Linked DNA regions of Homo sapiens: regions 1 and 3 are each linked to region 2. The links are contacts of gene promoters, found by promoter capture Hi-C in blood cells and fetal thymus (Javierre and others, 2016). All regions are on one chromosome and are shown on one strand. Each heading gives the region's core, a stretch centred on a gene start or on the middle of the fragment in contact. The rest is flanking DNA. Distances are from core to core; before and after follow the strand shown.

What was found. Contacts are between HindIII fragments. The CHiCAGO score rates a contact against its expected background, and 5 or more counts as called.
Region 1: a fragment that was not itself captured here is called in contact with the fragment with the promoter of CAVIN4 in region 2 in 1 of 17 cell types (total B cells); the score reaches 6.7 in total B cells.
Region 3: a fragment that was not itself captured here is called in contact with the fragment with the promoter of CAVIN4 in region 2 in 3 of 17 cell types (M0 macrophages, M2 macrophages and fetal thymus); the score reaches 8.4 in M0 macrophages.

Annotation. Positions count from the first base shown.
Region 1 is chr9:99,148,734-99,151,433 of GRCh38, forward strand. It overlaps TGFBR1 (transforming growth factor beta receptor 1), which reads left to right. Exons shown (of 9, transcript NM_004612.4): 9 at 447-2,700. The coding sequence ends at 572. Among named protein-coding and RNA genes, the nearest start is that of TGFBR1, 45 kb to the left of the region's middle. The HindIII fragment of the contact is 187 bases long and covers 1,303-1,489 here.
Region 2 is chr9:100,576,796-100,579,495 of GRCh38, forward strand. It overlaps CAVIN4 (caveolae associated protein 4), which reads left to right and starts at 1,284. Exons shown (of 2, transcript NM_001018116.2): 1 at 1,284-1,756. The coding sequence starts at 1,349. MSANTD3-TMEFF1 (MSANTD3-TMEFF1 readthrough) reads left to right here. Exons shown (of 10, transcript NM_001198812.1): 10 at 1-841. It overlaps TMEFF1 (transmembrane protein with EGF like and two follistatin like domains 1), which reads left to right. Exons shown (of 10, transcript NM_003692.5): 10 at 1-841. The HindIII fragment of the contact is 485 bases long and covers 1,084-1,568 here.
Region 3 is chr9:99,169,228-99,171,927 of GRCh38, forward strand. No RefSeq gene overlaps it. Among named protein-coding and RNA genes, the nearest start is that of ALG2, 51 kb to the right of the region's middle. RefSeq lists enhancers at 1,456-2,238, 2,265-2,434. The HindIII fragment of the contact is 5,684 bases long and covers 1-2,700 here.

The DNA of each region.
Region 1 (2,700 bases), core at 146-2,645, 1.4 Mb before region 2:
AAGTGGGAGGATTGCTGGAGCCTGGGAGGTCAAGGCTGCAGTGAGCTGAGGGCATGCCATTGCATTCCACTTTGGGCGGCAGAGTGAGACCCTGTCTCAAAAAAAAAAAAAAGAAAGAAAAATTTGATGTGAATACTTCAAAGTACAAACTTAAAATTTCAGTGTGAGGTCAGATTTCTTCTTTGCTTTGCCCAGCTCTGGTTTAGGATTCGGCCTTTTCAGGTTTGCTAAATGAGTCACTCTTTGTCCACCTGCTTTCCAGCACTGGCACCAGTACCCTATTGATGGAAATTTATGTAATTTCTACTCATTTGCTATTACAAATAATGCTTAAACAATAACAAGTGTATATGTCATTTAAAAAGAAAATTTACACGTAAAAATTCTTATCCAGACCAATGGAAAATGGTGCATGCATTAATTTTTTTTTTTATATTTTCTTGTAGGCCTTGAGAGTAATGGCTAAAATTATGAGAGAATGTTGGTATGCCAATGGAGCAGCTAGGCTTACAGCATTGCGGATTAAGAAAACATTATCGCAACTCAGTCAACAGGAAGGCATCAAAATGTAATTCTACAGCTTTGCCTGAACTCTCCTTTTTTCTTCAGATCTGCTCCTGGGTTTTAATTTGGGAGGTCAATTGTTCTACCTCACTGAGAGGGAACAGAAGGATATTGCTTCCTTTTGCAGCAGTGTAATAAAGTCAATTAAAAACTTCCCAGGATTTCTTTGGACCCAGGAAACAGCCATGTGGGTCCTTTCTGTGCACTATGAACGCTTCTTTCCCAGGACAGAAAATGTGTAGTCTACCTTTATTTTTTATTAACAAAACTTGTTTTTTAAAAAGATGATTGCTGGTCTTAACTTTAGGTAACTCTGCTGTGCTGGAGATCATCTTTAAGGGCAAAGGAGTTGGATTGCTGAATTACAATGAAACATGTCTTATTACTAAAGAAAGTGATTTACTCCTGGTTAGTACATTCTCAGAGGATTCTGAACCACTAGAGTTTCCTTGATTCAGACTTTGAATGTACTGTTCTATAGTTTTTCAGGATCTTAAAACTAACACTTATAAAACTCTTATCTTGAGTCTAAAAATGACCTCATATAGTAGTGAGGAACATAATTCATGCAATTGTATTTTGTATACTATTATTGTTCTTTCACTTATTCAGAACATTACATGCCTTCAAAATGGGATTGTACTATACCAGTAAGTGCCACTTCTGTGTCTTTCTAATGGAAATGAGTAGAATTGCTGAAAGTCTCTATGTTAAAACCTATAGTGTTTGAATTCAAAAAGCTTATTTATCTGGGTAACCCAAACTTTTTCTGTTTTGTTTTTGGAAGGGTTTTTGTGGTATGTCATTTGGTATTCTATTCTGAAAATGCCTTTCTCCTACCAAAATGTGCTTAAGCCACTAAAGAAATGAAGTGGCATTAATTAGTAAATTATTAGCATGGTCATGTTTGAATATTCTCACATCAAGCTTTTGCATTTTAATTGTGTTGTCTAAGTATACTTTTAAAAAATCAAGTGGCACTCTAGATGCTTATAGTACTTTAATATTTGTAGCATACAGACTAATTTTTCTAAAAGGGAAAGTCTGTCTAGCTGCTTGTGAAAAGTTATGTGGTATTCTGTAAGCCATTTTTTTCTTTATCTGTTCAAAGACTTATTTTTTAAGACATGAATTACATTTAAAATTAGAATATGGTTAATATTAAATAATAGGCCTTTTTCTAGGAAGGCGAAGGTAGTTAATAATTTGAATAGATAACAGATGTGCAAGAAAGTCACATTTGTTATGTATGTAGGAGTAAACGTTCGGTGGATCCTCTGTCTTTGTAACTGAGGTTAGAGCTAGTGTGGTTTTGAGGTCTCACTACACTTTGAGGAAGGCAGCTTTTAATTCAGTGTTTCCTTATGTGTGCGTACATTGCAACTGCTTACATGTAATTTATGTAATGCATTCAGTGCACCCTTGTTACTTGGGAGAGGTGGTAGCTAAAGAACATTCTGAGTATAGGTTTTTCTCCATTTACAGATGTCTTTGGTCAAATATTGAAAGCAAACTTGTCATGGTCTTCTTACATTAAGTTGAAACTAGCTTATAATAACTGGTTTTTACTTCCAATGCTATGAAGTCTCTGCAGGGCTTTTACAGTTTTCGAAGTCCTTTTATCACTGTGATCTTATTCTGAGGGGAGAAAAAACTATCATAGCTCTGAGGCAAGACTTCGACTTTATAGTGCTATCAGTTCCCCGATACAGGGTCAGAGTAACCCATACAGTATTTTGGTCAGGAAGAGAAAGTGGCCATTTACACTGAATGAGTTGCATTCTGATAATGTCTTATCTCTTATACGTAGAATAAATTTGAAAGACTATTTGATCTTAAAACCAAAGTAATTTTAGAATGAGTGACATATTACATAGGAATTTAGTGTCAATTTCATGTGTTTAAAAACATCATGGGAAAAATGCTTAGAGGTTACTATTTTGACTACAAAGTTGAGTTTTTTTCTGTAGTTACCATAATTTCATTGAAGCAAATGAATGAGTTTGAGAGGTTTGTTTTTATAGTTGTGTTGTATTACTTGTTTAATAATAATCTCTAATTCTGTGATCAGGTACTTTTTTTGTGGGGGTTTTTTTTTTGTTTTTTTTTTTTTGTTGTTGTTTTTGGGCCATTTCT
Region 2 (2,700 bases), core at 34-2,533:
AATTGCTTTCACAAATTTGTACCACATGGTAATTCTAAGACTTGTTCTTTACCCATGGAATGTAATATTTTTGCAAAGATGGACTACTTCACAAATGGTTATAAAGTCATATCCACTTCTTCCACAATGACCACAGCAAATGACCAAGCATGAACTAAAGGTAAAGATGTTTACAGATTACTTTTCTTACAAAAAAAATCTAGAAGACACTGTGTTTAAATAGATATTTAAATGTTTTTGAGATTTAGTAACTGATTTTTTAGACACTGCCTATCGCATGAACTGTAAAGCTGTGTGTATTAGGTGTAAAATATTTATAAGATATATGGACTGGGGAATTTGATTATTCCTCCCTTTGAAAAAATAGTCCTAATAATTTGAACAAATATGTTAGTAATGATGGAACAGATCAATGAAAAGTAGATATAGATATTGTGAAAATAGGCTGTTTAACAAACAGATTGGAATAAAGCCTATTCTACCAGTTAAACTACTTTAATACACATTCATTTTTAAAGAAAATGTTTGTTTTAACATAAATAAACAAATCGTATCAGTGTTTGTGAATAAAATACAAAAATGATTGTTAATGATTGGTGCTCTTAAAGTGAGCTTAAAATTTATCCAAGACGTATATCCAAATTTGTCCTGTAGTAATAGATTAATATTCATAGATTGTTGGTGTTTAAAGATCTGAAGTGTGAGTAGAATGTATTCAGCTGTTTAACATGTAGTTTAGATATTCAAAAGTATGCATGTAGAATTTAAAGAATATGTTAAAAATTATTAATTTTAATATTTTGTTTGGAAAAGCATGTTATAATATAATGTTTTCACTATATGGCCTCTGTTTTGGTGTGTTTATTTACCAAATTTTTTGATATTGGTGTTTCAGTATATTTAATATGTGAAATTAGTAGAAAAAGCAGATTTCGGTTCAGAATTCCCCTTTACTGTTACAAATACTGATTGAAATTATCTAAAGGCAAAAGCTTTACCCAACATTTGGAGTTTGCTTTTTTGATCATTTGGCTTCTAGGTTTAATATTAGTTACATGGTGGCTTTAGTGAACTTTTTTAAAAAGCTTTACTCTTCTACCCACACAGTCTTATTTGAGTCCCTTAGTCAGTCAGCAAGCATGTTTGGAACAGTCCCCGGTGCTTTGCAAGGGTTCAGATTGCAGAACAGTCACATATGGGTATTTGTAGTTATAAATACTTGACCGTTCTCTAGGGGTGGGGTTTCCAACTCTTTAAACAACCCTGTTGCCTGTTATCAAGCTGACTTTTTGCTCCAAGTGCCAGAATTGATTGTGGTTAGGACATCTTACGCTGAGAAATAAATAAAATGGAACATAATGGGTCTGCTTCAAATGCTGATAAAATCCACCAGAATCGCCTGTCGAGTGTTACAGAAGATGAAGACCAAGACGCTGCTCTTACCATTGTGACTGTGCTGGACAAAGTAGCCTCCATCGTGGACAGTGTGCAGGCAAGCCAGAAGAGAATAGAAGAGAGACACAGGGAAATGGAAAATGCCATAAAATCCGTCCAGATTGACCTGTTGAAGCTTTCACAGTCGCATAGCAATACAGGGCATATCATTAACAAATTGTTTGAGAAAACCCGAAAAGTTAGTGCTCACATTAAAGATGTGAAAGCCCGGGTGGAGAAGCAACAAATTCATGTTAAAAAAGTTGAAGTCAAGCAAGAGGAAATAATGAAGAAAAACAAATTCCGCGTGGTAATATTCCAGGTAAGCTTGCACTTGTGTTCAGCTTGCTTGTTCTAATCTCTTGCATCTTTTAATTGCCAAAAGTCATATCAGAGGTTTCCAGTGTCACATCTTAACTATTGTATATATTAATACAATGGAGTTCTGTATTAGCAGCAATCTCAGGATAAAACCATTTCTCTGTTAACCAAAGTACTATCTGTCATTTCGGTATTTTGAGCTTCTCAACCATTTCATGTAATATGAACTGTGGCTCATAGCTTAGGCTATTTCTTGCCTTTGAAACTTAATATTGGTAAGGCCCTTTCAGCATATTAGCCTTATTAGCATGAAGCCCTCTCATAGACTTTGAAAATGTTAGAACTAGAAGAAGACTCAGAAGCCTCTAGTTTAAAACACTTCTTTGTTCTCTAAAAGAAGAAACTGACAACCAGTAGCAGTGGTTTTTTCTGCTTATATGGAGAGCCTGGAAAGGCCTAAACAGTAGATATAAACTTTTCAGAATGTGATTTGTGTATTGGAATTTTTACATATAGATCACAATGATAGCGATTTTCCAATGAACAATGAGGCAATTATTTTTCTTATTATTATAGTAATACAAATATATGAGTCACATAAGTAGTTTCCTATGTTTGATTACAAAGTCTTTTTACTTAAGTGATTTAATATAATATTTTGTGTGTGGCATTGTGTATTGAGCTAAGTTCCCATATTATTCTGCGCTTGGCACTCATATTTTTGGAAATAGGAACATATTTATGGCAAATGCATAATATCTATGGTATATTTTCAAAACTCTTACAGTTAAAAGGAAAAAAATTGAACATTCCTTCACAGTAGAAAAGTGGGAAACTGTCATTATCAGGCAGTTTACAAAACACAAATAAGAATAAAATTCTAATTTCACCTATTTAAATGTTGGCAGTTATTAAAACCTATACCCAGAGGTTAATTTAAGGATT
Region 3 (2,700 bases), core at 164-2,663, 1.4 Mb before region 2:
GGGAGGCTCTGGGACCCAGGTGAGTGCAGGAACTTTCTTACCAGGTGGCTCTGAGAGCTGGGAGATGAGCCACCTCTCATTTGCATTTCTGAGAGAGGCAGGCAGGGAAAAGAAGCCTGGCTCAGAGCATTGTCTCCAGCCCGAGTCACTTTTGGGCTGTGTATCAATCAGAGTTCCAAAAGAACCTGATGGGGATATAGATTAAGAGTTTTATTGCAAGGAATTGGCTTACATCATTACGGAATCTGAGGGGCAGGCCGTCAGGAAAGGAAGGCTGGGGCCCTGGGACAGGATCTATGGCCTCAGTCTACAGGCAGAATTTCTTCTTCAGGAAAGCCTCAGCCCTGCTCGACTGATTGAATCAGGCCCACCCTGGTTATCCAAGACAATCTTTTTTATCCAAAGTCCACTGATTTCAACCCCATCTACAATATACTTTCATAGCAATTCCTAGAGTAGCATTTGCTTGAATATGGGACTGTTCACAAGTTCACACATCAAACTGTCACAGGTTGACTTGGCTGAAACAGATTGTGTGAGAGCAGAGGCTAAGTGGGGGGCGTTGGAGTTTTGTTGTAGTTGTTGTTGTTTTGTTATTTTCTGGAAATCAATGTTATTTCCTTAGATGATACTACCCAGGGTAATCACGGCTGCAACGAGTTATTCCATCTATCAGTGGAATGAAGCATTTTTTTTTGCCAACTTGATGCTTGACTTTCCTAACTTACCTGCAAGAAGCGACCCCATTAGCCTCTTTCACAGGTGAGGAGCACACCTCAAGTTCTCTTGCTCATAAACCCAGTAGGAGTCACTGGGATTTGGCCCTCATCATGGTCACTGAGGGGTTAAACCTGCCGCAGCTCTGCTGACCCCTGAGGGTTTCAGCCAGTACTCCATGGCCATTAATCATCCTCATCTGGGACCAGGGCTGCGGGGAACAACGTTTACTAGCAATTAACCTACAGTAGAGGGACCATTGTTTCCCCCGCCTGCACTCCCCTCCTCTGCACGCCCAATTACTCTAAATTAACATTTACCAAGCAAAGTGCCTGTTAATTGGAAGGGCAGTAGAAAGAAAGGCCACACACCTACCCAGTCTAACTTAATAACCTCAAAAGCAGCCATTAATTAACAGGGCAGCGTTTCCATTCAGATCTTGTTTAGACAGTTCGGCAGTTAACTCTGTGTCTGTGTTTCTGAGCTCAGCCCTGCACCGCATCTCCCTGCCCTCCCTTGCCAGCAGCTCAGATGAAAAACACACTCATAAAGAAATCTTCACTCTCTAGAATGTCTGCACTGGCCAGGGGACTTAGGGATTCCTGGGGACAGCCTTCTTACTGTGTAGATGGGGAAACAGGCTGAGAAAGGCCTCAGGGTCCCAGGGTCAGACACTAGCTGGAGGCCTCCTGGCTGGGGGCTCCTATCCACCCTGCCCGATGTGTGTGGGTGTGACATGCTTTCTGTCCTCTCTGGTCTCAGTGCCTGATGCCAGGCACTCAGGATGTGGACTTGCATGAAGCCGGGGAGCAGGGGTGGGGCTGGGGGTGCGGGTAGAAAGGGGGATGCTTCTAAGAGGAGAGAGGGAGGGATGGAGAGGAGGGGGCTCCCTCTCACAAATGGAGAGCAGCTGCGGTGTCTCCAGGCAGCCCCGAAGGCCTTCGTCCATTGTCCCTCCCCACTTGTGCAGTTGGGTTGAGTGGCAACTGTACCCCCAGCCCAGCAAATGGAGGGTCCTGCCCACTTGACCCTGGGCATCCCTCGAGCCCAGCCTTCCTTTCCTGTGCATACTCATGGTCTCCTCCTCATTTGGTAGCCCTGGGGACCCCTGGCCAGTACCCTTCTTTCCCCAGGGCAACTGTTCACAGCCTCCTGACTTGCCTTAATGTCCTCATCAGACAACCTCACCTCCCTCCCTGAGAAACTCAAGCCCTCCAGGAGGGGCCTGCTTAGCTTCCCTTCCTCCCCCTGGGGCTCAGCCTGCCCTGTCTATAGGGCCTGCCTTGTTGGTGGTAGTTGGTTGCAGAGTTGGCCTCAACCCCCAATCTGGATCTGGACTCTGGTCTCGCGCCTCTCCAGGCTCCTTCGGGCTCATCGTCTCTCTGCAGGTCTCCACTCGCTCACTTCCCCTGCATCCTCCCCACAGCACAGGGCATACTCTCAGGGGACGCCCCTCCTAAATCAGCCCTGCCGTCCCCCATGGTCCTCCAGCTGGTGTCGAGCTTCTCCAAAGGGACATTGCACAGGTTGCGTTTTCCCACCTCCCACCCACTCTCAATTCTCCATAGTTGACCTTTGGCCCTCAACTGCCCCACAGAAACTGCCTTTCTCAAGTTTAAAACAACCTCCTTGTTACTAAGTCCAGGAGACACTGTGTAGGTTTCTGTTTTTGTTTTTTTATATGACCTTTTTGTAGGATTTTCTGCTGTTGCCCACTCACTCCCTCCCTCCCCTCTGAAACTCCTGACTTCCATGATAGCACTCTTTGTTTCCCAGGCGTTTCTTTCTGCCAGTCCCCACAGGATTTTCTGTGCTGGCCCCTTCTCTTCTGGTCACATATTCTCCGTGGGTGGCCTCATCCACTCTGTGGCCCCATTACCAACTAGATGAGGAAGAAGGGGAAGAGGAGGAAGATGATGACAGTGACAACTCCCAAATCTCTATACTGGGCCAGATTTAACTCCTGAGCCTCAGACTCCATCA